Regions from separate parts of the Homo sapiens genome. Here region 2 is linked to region 1. The links are contacts of gene promoters, found by promoter capture Hi-C in blood cells and fetal thymus (Javierre and others, 2016). All regions are on one chromosome and are shown on one strand. The core of a region is centred on a gene start or on the middle of the fragment in contact, and the rest is flanking DNA. Distances in the headings are between cores, read along the strand shown.

Region 1 (5,730 bases), core at 2,149-4,648:
TAAAACTACAAAATTAGCCAGGTGTGGTGGCACATGCCTGTAATCCCGGCTACTCGGGAGGCTGAGGCAGGAAAATCGCTTGAACCCAGGAGGCAGAGGCTGCAGTGAGCCGAGATCACACCACTGCACTCCAGCCTGGGCAACAATAGCAAAACTTTGTCTTAAAAAAAAAAAAAAAGAGGCCGGGCGCGCTGGCTCATGCCTGTAATCCCAACACTCTGGGAGGCCAAGGCGGGCAGATCATGAGGTCAGGAGATCAAGATCATCCTGGCTAACACAGTGAAACCCCGTCTCTACTAAAAATACACAAAAAAATTAGCTGGGCATGGTGGCGGGCACCTGAGTAGTCCCAGCTACTCAGGAGGCTGAGGCAGGAGAATGGTGTGAACCCAGGAGGCGGGGCTTGCAGTGAGCCGAGATGGTGCCACTGCACTCCAGCCTGGGTGACACAGCGAGACTCCGTCTCAAAAAAAAAAACTTTAAATATTTTCAAACCCAAGCTTCTCATAAACCAACCTGTCAAACAAATTGCATACAACTCTGCCTCTTTTATCAGTAACTGATTTTTCAAAAATAGCTTATGTTGTGAGGCATTAGATTATCTTTAGAGCATGAGAAATTTGGTACCAACTTCCTTTATGAGCAATTTTGATGAAATGACATTGATAAATGACCTCAGTTCTCAGAATATTAATTATAGGAACTCAACTGAAGAAAATTAGAAATATTAATCCAAACCAATGGAATGGTTCATTGGACTGCACTTGATAACCACTGCTTTGTTTCCAACATTTTATGCAGGTAGATTTAGCGCTTTTTAAAAAAGGCACAAAGGCCTTCATCTACAAAAATTAGGGTACTTTAAGAAAGCTCTGTATCTAATGTTTCCCAGCTTTCAAGTAGATCAAATAGAATTGGAATCTTAATATGATGCAAACATGACCATTCCCAATTTCTTTACCCCTGCTGTGTTCCTTTTTTTCATAAACCCTACTGCCTCTACCTGCAGAACGGGATCAAATTGCTTAGTCACTAAACTCCACCATAAAACCACCTCACAAGAGGACCTGACTCCCACCAACCATGAAAGAACAAGATACACTATAAAGTGAAAAACAGATGCTTTTATTTATTGTATTGGAAACAACTTAATAATTTGCATCTCTACATATAGAAAGCTGCTTTGAATAACTGGGAAAACAATTATTGCATAGGAAAACATATGCAAACTAGCATCATTGTCTCTAGACTAGGTTCTTCTTATTGATCTCACGTCATCACAAAGCAGCAACAGCAGCTTCTAGAAAATGGAGAAACAGTAAAGTCCTGCAATGAAGCTATAATTAAGGTTGAACCATACATTCCGCTAATCCTGCAACTTTCCTACAATCATTTTTCTGCCTATACAATCCTGCTTCTTATAGGATGAACACCTAGCAAAACAATATAAATTTGCTGAAAAACAAAATTACAAACAAATGAAAGAACTTAACAGAACACACAGCATTAAAAGGACTAGGAAGAGCAAGGTCTTAATACCCAGTACAATAAAGCCAAGAATTTTCTAATGCTGACCAGTCTGAAGACTGAAATTAAATATCAGTTCTTTTTACTTCTCTAGGAGTGATTCTAGCTCCTCTTGCAAAGAGCTGAGTTGCTCCTTTTCTCGGTCTTCCTTTTGTTTGAGCTCATCCAGTACAGCCTGAAATCTGTTCTTGAGAGCCAGATTTTCCACTTTCATGATGAGATCCTCTTGTCGTTTTGCCCTGTCCTGGGTCTCTTGGAGCTTGCCTTTCATGTTGTCAATCTGCTTCTGAATTCCCATAACCAGCTGATTGGTTCCTTCATTTTCCTGGTGCTGTTCATCTGATTCATTTAGCTTGTCCTGTAGCTGTCTCTCCAGATCTTCCTCCGTGTCAATGATGTTTATATCTTCTTCATCTTGATGCTGGGTCTCATCTTCATCCTCACTGCTGCTGCTGAGGTCATTGAATATCTCCCGAAGCTCATCATGTTCTAATGAGTCATGGCCCTGCCTGTGACCAGACATTCCTGGAGAAGAGATATCCAGGCCTTGATTTTCTGCCTCCTTTGTTTCATCTTCGGCAATTATTTCCCACCGAGTACTAACAGCTTCAGCATCTGTACTCAGCAATCGTTTCACTTCTTTTTCAACATCTGGAGATTCAATATATTTCTTCTTTGCTGTCTTCCGGAACCTTCTCTTCCTGACATTCTTTAGAGGCAGAGTAATTCCGTGGTTCCAGATAAACTTTTTCTCTTTGTCCTTATCCTTTTTCTTGCTTGCTTTAGGATCAGTGCTAGCAACTGGCTCCTCCACAGGAGGATAGAGATCACCATCAACTGTGGATACAAGCATCTGACAGATATCAGCTGTCTTGTAAAAAGTTTTTTTATCAATGGTTTTCAAGCTTTCCATAACACAGGGCAGGTCTACTAATTTTGAGGCCAATGGAACACGGTCCACTCTGACGATTCCATGACGCCCATCAGGATGTAACTCAATTGTCAGTCTGTCCTTGAGGTTGACATGACCAGACTGTACTGCCCTTCTCACAGTAGAGGCATATTCTGGAGGCAGACGTAAGATAAACTGGCTCTCCAGTTCGTGAGGAGCATCATCTTTGCTTTTACTCATCTTTATTTCCTTGTGATTCACTTCTCCAATAAATGCTGGTTACACTAAAAAGTTCCAGCTACTGCAATAGTTTAAAACACCAGTTTGCTATGAATTGAAATCTTTTAATTACAAGAAGTTCTCTGTAGATCAGCAGCTAAGCGTCTATTTTGCCTTAGTTTTTATTTAAGCTCCAAGTCTTTTCTCTAAATATGCTGTGACCGAATACCAGTCGTTAACACAAAGGCTTATTCACAGACTTAAGTTCATTAAATCAGATGCAATGCCAAGTCCCAACCTCTAGGTGCCGCTGCCGGACAACGCGGAGAGAGCTAGCTAGCTAGCTAGGGAACAGGAAAGCAAATGGCGGCTCCCCCGGAACGGTTTTCGGCCCAGAAAGCCCAGCAGAGATACTTTCAACTCACAAACTCTCCCGGAACAAAGACACTCAAAAAATCAGGGCTCAGCGAGCTCTCTTCGCCTCGGGTACTTACAATCCAGTGACGATTATAAGTTCAGTTTCACCGGGCCGGAGCGAAGGGAAGAGGAGGCCGCAAGGAGCCAAGCGGGAGAGAGCCGAGCGTCTCCTTGTCGTTTCCTTAATTCTTCCTGCCGCTTGGCAGAGTGATCCACTACCGATTACTGATGAAAGGGCCCGGGATGGGCAGCGCGAAATCTTGCCGAGAGGCGCAGCTCGCATCACCAGACCCCGCACCTCGCCGGCCCTCCGTCCGGGTCGCCTACCCAGCAAAAACGGAAGTGCTACGTCGCGACGCGGGGCGGGAGGCGGCTGTGAGTGACAGCCCCTCCGGGCGGAAGGGCGGAGCCCCAGCTAGCGCAGGCGCAATAGCGCAATTACGCTGCCCAGCGTGAAACTCATCTTTTCGCGAGAACTTGTTTTTCCGGGATGGAAATGACAGTGTTTCGGAAGAGCTGTTGGTTTCAAACTATTTAGAGCTTGGAAGTTCCAAGAAAGACACAGATTCGTCCCCCGCTAAGCCAGCACTTTTACGGGATCGCTGTGGGGCCGGATGGCTTCTAGACTTCCGGGTGATTCCGGGAGATGGGGGACGCCTTGCAGTAAGCGTCTTTGCTTCTGGAAACATCTCGGATGTTCCCTAGAGTCTAGCCTATCTGGTGCCAATACAAGAATGTGTAGCTACTATACAATGGATTTCAAAGTACCCAAATCAATGGAGTGAGGAGGACATGCAGCTTACTATATAAGTCTCTCTCTATATATATGTTTGTTTGTTTGTTTTGGAGATGGAGTCTCAGGCTGTCACCCAGGCTAGAGTGCAGTGGCACAATATTGGCTGACTGCAACCTCCACCTCTGGGGTTCAAGCGATTCTCCTGCTTCAGCCTCTTAAGTAGTTGGGATTACAGGCACGTTCCACTACCCCACCTAAGTTTTGTATTTTTAGTAGAGAAGGGGTTTCACCATGTTGGCCAGGCTGGTCTCGAACTCCTGACCTGAGGTGATCTGCCTGTCTTGGCCTCCCAAAGTACTAGGATTATAGGTGTGAGCCAGCGCGCATGGCCCAAAGTCTGTATTTTTAAATATAATTCCCTGTAGGGGAATTGTGCCTCTGGTTTTACTTGTGTTCTATAATACTTCTGGGGAAACAAGGGTGATTCCTTTTTATGTGCTTGATTTAGATGTAAATGTAAACAGAGAAGGAAGTGTTCTTTTGGACAGAATTGTCTGATAGACTGAGCATCTGGTTAAAGTAGATATAATTGAAGTATTGTTTCCTGTCTCTCATGTACAAGTAATTTTAAATTACTTTGACATTTTTTTTAACTCCACCTCTACTATTTTGCTGTTTTCTGCTTGTCTTTTCTATCAATAGTCAGGTATTCATCAACACATATTTTTAGTATTTTAACATAACTGGGTAACAGTTGGTACTTATTTCTATTTATTTCCATTTATTTTTAAAATATCTGGGAGAGCATCAAGGCCATTAATATTTCATTTCTATCCTCTAAAATATTAACAATTGCCCCTAAATTTAAGAGAATTCTCTTAAGATGTAATTAACATTTCCAAAATTCACTTTATTCTTGTATGATTGAAAGCTCCATGATAGTGATCTTCTTCTATCCTGGTCATTGTGTCCCAGTGCCTAGTACCAGAATGTGGGAGATACACAAAAAATATTTGCTAATTGAATGAAAAAACTTATCTGTCTAGAAAGATCATAGTCTCAAATCCTGTAGTGATTTCTGAGAGAAAATACATTCTTTGTCATTTTAAAATGAGATAGAGCCACTTTACATACATTTCCTTTCTAGTCAAGGACAATTCTAATTGTTATGAGGTGGGGAGGTTTACTAATAGTGTGTGTGAATGTGGTTTAGCTAGAATGAGATACTGTTGTGGGAGGAAATTAAAATGACCTGACGTTAGTTTGGTTTTTAATGTTAATTTTAAAAGAGAAAGTATGCCCTTCCAGATAACGGTAAATTATTTCTCTTTGCTTATAATGTGTTGAAGAATGTTAGCTGACTTACTTGTAATTTCCAGAATGATCTATTTCCTCTTTTTCAAAGATGAAGTTTTTTCTGTTACAGGCTTGAGCCACCTCGCCTGGCTGTGTTTTGTTTAACCATATACAATGTGAGGTCATTATACATGAAAATAATCCAAATATTACTCAGCATCTTCCCTATGAGTTTTATGATGCTCAAATATTCTTATCATAGAAGGTAACTTGAGATAAATTGTATGCAATTTTTCATTTTCCAAAATTACTGTGTATTTTAGTTTCTAAACCTTTCTTTACATGGAATATTGCCAGACATAGTTAAAAGGATTAACTGAGGTTTTCTTAATGTATCTAGCTCCTTCAGTCCTGAAATACATTTTCTGCTTTTGAGTTTAACACATTTTCTATATGCTGTTTTAGGGGAGGAAATTATATTGACCCTAAATATTTTTTTAAATTGGATTTATCAGTAGACATTAAGATAATCTGCTGGGTGCAGTGGCTCATGCCTGTAATACCAGCACTTTGGGAGGCCAAGGCGGATGGATCATCTGAGGTCAGGAGTTCGAGACCAGCCTGGCCAACATGGTGAAACCCC
Region 2 (5,730 bases), core at 1,069-3,568, 2.9 Mb after region 1:
TCCATGCGGGAAACATTACAACACTGCCGTATGGTGCTCTTTGACTTATCCAAACCACCTCTCAGTAGGAGGCTCTGCATCCTCAAGGGAGATTTATATGATTGCTCTGTTTCCTTCCCTTCACATCTGTAAGGGGTCCAGAGTAAGGATTGGTCAATGTTAGTGATGTGGCTCTACCCTGAGCTCTTGTGGAGCTAATAATTAGAACAGTTTGGGGAAGGAGAGAATTCATTTTTAAAAAGACACGAAGCAATGTGTTTGTAATAGCAAATGATACATTTGTTGAGCATTTACTATGGGCCAGTTAGTGCACTAAGCATTTAACATGCATTATTTATTTAGTTCTCACAAAACTCTGTATGGGAAGTACAATTATTACCCCTGTTGTACAGATGAGAAAACTGTGGCTCAGATGTATGTAACTTTTTCAGCTGGTAAACAATGGAGGTGGGATTCGACCCCAGGACTCTCTGATCCCAAAGCCCACCCTTTTAACCATGATGCTCTATTGCTTCTCTGTGCAAGAAATAATCATTTTTAGTACTTAAATTGTGTTTTGGTATTTTTTGTGAATACTATGAATTTGTGAATACTAGGTGAACTTAAGGAAAATTTTATTTGCAGTAATGAAAGGTGACCACAAATCCTTCAATGTTGTCATTTTGTGCTGATCAAAAGTAACTTGTTCTTTTATTAGATTTCCTTTGTGTCACACACTTGCCTTAAAGAACTGTTGCTTACACCGTCAGCTTCCCCAGACCCTCAGGATATCCTTAATTACAGGACTCCCTGTGTATCTGAAATAGAAATAGTGCTTGAAATCCTCCTCTACCACCATCCCCCAATTGTTAAACTATAGGCATACCCTGTTAGCATGGGGGAATCTCTTCCTGGAAATTATCACATTAACTACATTGATGCTATATGTGCCTTTGGCCCAAGATTTCTTCTATTTACCTTTCTTATCTTTCTGGGTTGCTGCAAGGCTTATGTTGTCCTTCAAAATCTCAAAGGATTTCTACCAGGCAACAAATGTCTGCTGATCTGGGTTTCTTAGACCACCTCCTTGGGGGCATCTGAGGTTGTTGCAGTGCAGCCTGCTTGCTACCATCCAGCACCTTTCATGATTTTTGCAGAATCTCCAGCACCGTTGCTTGGTCACCTTTTGTCAGCCATCTTGAGCTTCAGTGTTCACTGGCACACAAGGAACCACAGAAAGAGGGAGCTGGTGGAGTCAACAAATGGAGAGGGAAGGGCCACTCAAATGGCTCTTAGTCTTCACTGGCTGAGAACCAAATACAGATTAGCTGTACGGTAGAGTGCTGCAACGGACTTACATTTATATACACATATAAAATATTTCTGAGATCATCAGCACTCTAATGAATCAGCCCTGTCTGGAACAGCTCTAAATGAATTCTAAATGAGTGCCTCTCTGATTTCATACCGAGTAAATGTATAGTAATGCAAAGTGGCACTTTCTTTAGTTCATCAATAATTTATTAATGGGCACTTTGTTCTAGGCATGATGTTTCTTAGAGTTTCAAAAAATGACTTTGCTTTTGGTTGCTCTGTTGCTCTCATAGAACTTTTTCCTCTTCTCTTAACAGCAGTCATCACTTTCTCCTGTGTGCCAGTTGTCTCCAAGTCAGACACAGAGTGTTTTCCCCTATTGGATTATAAGCTTAGTGAAGGTAACACTCATGTTTGATTCACTATTACATTCTCTACAAAGCCTAACATAGTTCCTTGTACAAATAGATACACATAAATATTTGAGTAAATGAATGATAATAAGAGACATGGCCAAAACATTTTAAAGGAGCTCAAAACGTATTTTGCTGGACTCCAGCAATCTTAGCTGTCATTACTATGTGGGGCTCTAGGGAAGGACTCTATGTCGGCTCTGATTGGCCAGTGGCTCTGCAGGTGATCTTATTTTTTTGGAGGGAAGCGAGTTTTTACTATTGTGAAGCACTTTTATTATTGTCAGTGCCTCACAATAATAAAACTCCATCAGTCACTTCCATTGGGCAGTTACTTTTTCTTTCTTTACCCTTATAGGTATAAATGACCTCGGACCAAATGGCAATAAAAGGAAGGTATTTTATTACTGTCTTTGGGGCAAATAAAACATTTATTATTTCTCCATCCCTAGCCCTTTCATCTAATTTTTAATCTTAATTTATAATTGTATTATATGTCCTATCCAGGAGTAATTGCAGCTTCTATGTCCTGTATTATGGCACATCAACAACACAGATGTATGTAACTACTCTCAAGACCTCATTTAAATATATGAAAAATTCAAGAGATTGTTCAAGGGACACCAGGTTGAATCCAGGTTCTATCAGATACATAAATCTTTTTTTGTGTCACTCCATTTGTTCATAGGCATTCTTTTTCCTGATGAATGGCAACCAGATTTATCAGGAAGATATACAACACTGGCTCCATTTCAAACAATTGTCTGATGTCCTCTGGCAGCTATTGGAACTGCACATTGCAATAGTACCAGCCTGTCATTTTGAGAGACCCCTAGGGTAATTGTGAGATGTGCTTGAGGCTCAGATCATTGTCTGTAAAGGTAACATGCAATTTCCTTGGCAGCAGCTGTGCAAATCTGCGTTGTACAGCAAAAAAGGTGATGTTTCCTACCTCATATTTGAATTATGTACTTTGGCCCTTTAAATCTTGTGCCCGGTATGTGTGTCTATGTAGGTCAATCATTATCAGGCATTCTAACTCCATAACCCATCCTACACACATGTTTGGAAAGAATGCAGAGTAACTGATGCATAAAATAGTTGGATTATAATTGTCTGGTACCTTGACAAAATACTTTTTCAGTAAATCATATTTTTCAAGCATATAAGCACTTTTTAAAAAATAAAAACTAGAATTTTATAGTTCTGATGTAAACTTTTATCCTAAAAGCAATGTCTTATTTCTATAAGCTTTTAAATTCTGGAACATAAACATATATATTACTTATCCTTTTGGATTCATGAAGGGTCAGTTCTCTGATGCTCTATTCATAAACATTTCACTTTTCACATTTGGAAACAACATTTCAGGAGTAAAGAAAATTAGATATGCTACACTCTTAGATCACATGCTTGTTATATCCAGATGAAACTTCTGGATACCACTGGCCTAATTGGTGGTTTATTCTTTCATTCATTCATTTGCTTGTTCATTCTCACAACCCTTTGACAAATATATATAGAGTGCTTACTCTGAGCCTGGCACTGAACTGCGATTGGGGATATAGTGGTGATCTATGCTGGATTGTGTTGGTGTTCTTTGTGATGCCAAACCATTGGGTACACAGTGAGCATATTTAATAAAAGAAACTATATGCCCAAATAATTTGGGTGTAGTGAAAAAGGACCTCGGAATCAGACAGGTTTGGTGTGATCCGCTGCTGGTTACTTAACCTCTTGGAGGCTCTTTTATTCTCCCCACAATGCTAACATTTCAGGATTGTTTTAGGAATTAAGATAGAAAATGTATGTGGAATTGCCTGGCAATTGGGTCAGTTAATTTTATTAATTTGTTTGGCCACAGGCACAGACATGAATCTTTTAAGAAACTGGTGTCAGTGAAATTTTGAAACTGGAAACTCTGATCTCTTACTCTTTCAGGAGTGTTTCTTTTAAAGGTTTCTCTTTTTTTCCATTCCAATTTGACCCCACATCGAAGACATGAATACCTCTTTGTAGTAGTGGGTTAAGAGAGGGTGGTTTTCGCAGTCAGCTTATTTCTCTCGGACCTGACCAAATGAAAAGATCCCTGCTAGCATGTAGAACTCAATGTCTGAGAAACAAACTGGAATCAACTACCTTATATTCCTAACCAACAGCTCCATCTGATATGACCCTATCAGCTTTGTAATTGTTTCATTGGGCCATTCTGAGGATTTCGCTCTTGGTTCTGCAATTAAATTAAACAAACATTAATTGAGCATCTCTCAGATGCCAGACCTTGTGCTACCTGCTTGAGGGTACCAAGAATGAAAAATGACCCCTGCCCCATGGATTTCTTGCAAATAATTCAAAAGGGAAGGGAAAAAAGTGGTATTCAGAGCATATCTGCAATTCTCAGCTTTGAGTCCTCGAGTCCTCTAATAAAACAATTCCATTTTGCTCCTTGAGCTAAATCTTTCCATTTGTTATTTGGTGTTTGCCCTTCTTACTTCCTGCTGTTCCCCATCTGCAGATGCCACTGGTAAGATTCATTTCAGCCTAAGAGTATGACATGTTTGGATTTATTTGTGAAAAACGCCTTCTACAAACAATCGCTATACCAAAGTGACTGTGCTGAATCACTGTAAAATGATGTGATCTGTTTTGAATGAGCCAGCCTGTTCATTCACTTTCTTCTATTCATCATCCTTTGAAAGGTGTAGATACTTTCCAAGTTAGAAGCCCTGTTTTTAAATGAACAAATTATCAATCTCCAAGGGCAAATGTGCTTAGAGTTCTGAGTATCACTTTACTTTCTCGTATTCCTCTCCTAGAAGGGAGAGCCAGGCTTTCAGAAAAGGGATCAGTAACATCAACAGCATAAATGAGTAAAGTGTTTGCTCATGATTATATAGCTGGTAAGTACCTCTTTCAAACTCTGTTCTGCCTGATTCTAAAACCTGTTTCTTTTCTTTACAAACAGGATTTTAAAACTCTATTTCCTTAAGTTGCTTCAGGGTATTCCACAAATTCCATTTACACATATATAAAACTATTTAGAAAAAAATTAAAATGCATTCTAAAGACATTTGAGATATTTATTATTGCAAGTTCTGGAAGATTTTTTAAAAAATAAATATTTTTGAACTTAACACCTAAGCTGATTCTGATTTCATTCCACTTGTATCTGTTGCATATTATGGAATGACAACAAAGACGCCTTTTGAAAGATGGGTTCCCTAGGTAGGAGATAAAAGGTTGATAATTACTGGCTTGCAGTTTACACTACTGCTTTACCGAAAGATATATTACATAGTACATAGAGCAGACATAAAGAAGACTCCACCAACATGTGTAATACAATTTAGCTAACAAACATCCCACAGGGAATAACACGACATGGATCAACAGGCTGTAGGTGAAGGACTTCAGGGGAGGCAAAGGTAGGCGTCTTGTTTTTAGGGCTATTCCTAAAATAGTGCATGTGGATTTAGTAAAACCAATTATATGAGAATCGTGCAGCTAATTGTGCAGCTATGTTTTTCATTTGCCAACCCATTTTCAGAAATAAGTATATTTCTGTTGGTTAGGCTTCATGCTGATGAGATCACAGTTTTAAAACACATATGTGGGAGTTGGCTTTACTTGACTTCATGGCCAAATTGTGCACTCCTAACTTTGACCATTTGTTCCAGAACAGCTTCATTTTTTTTTTTTTTTTTTTTTTTTTTTTGAGACAGAGTCTCGCTTTGTCATCAGGCTGGAGTGCAGTGGCAAAATCTTGGCTCATTGCAATCTCCGCCTTCCGGGTTCAAGCGATTCCCCTGATTCAGCCTCCCGTAGCTGGGACTACAAGTGCGTACCATCACACCCGACTAATTTTTTGTATTTTAGTAGAGACAGGGTTTCACCATGTTAGCCAGGATGGTCTCGATCTCCTGATCTCATGATCCGCCCGCTTCTGCCTCCCAAAGTGCTTCCTCGTTTTGAAGACAAATTTAAAATGTGACTTCACATCTGTACCTACTACAGAAATGTATAC

The links. The method cuts DNA at HindIII sites, captures the fragments that hold promoters and counts their contacts. A CHiCAGO score of 5 or more calls a contact.
Region 2: a fragment that was not itself captured here is called in contact with the fragment with the promoter of TAF7 in region 1 in 1 of 17 cell types (naive CD8 T cells); the score reaches 5.4 in naive CD8 T cells.

What each region holds. Positions count from the first base shown.
Region 1 is chr5:141,317,386-141,323,115 of GRCh38, forward strand. It overlaps TAF7 (TATA-box binding protein associated factor 7), which reads right to left and starts at 3,399. Exons shown (of 1, transcript NM_005642.3): 1 at 1,105-3,399. The coding sequence starts at 2,659. The coding sequence ends at 1,610. RefSeq lists enhancers at 2,928-3,127, 3,708-3,767, 3,778-3,927. The HindIII fragment of the contact is 5,333 bases long and covers 2,431-5,730 here.
Region 2 is chr5:144,194,315-144,200,044 of GRCh38, forward strand. The region is part of intron 2 of KCTD16 (potassium channel tetramerization domain containing 16); the gene reads left to right. Among named protein-coding and RNA genes, the nearest start is that of KCTD16, 26 kb to the left of the region's middle. The HindIII fragment of the contact is 1,273 bases long and covers 1,683-2,955 here.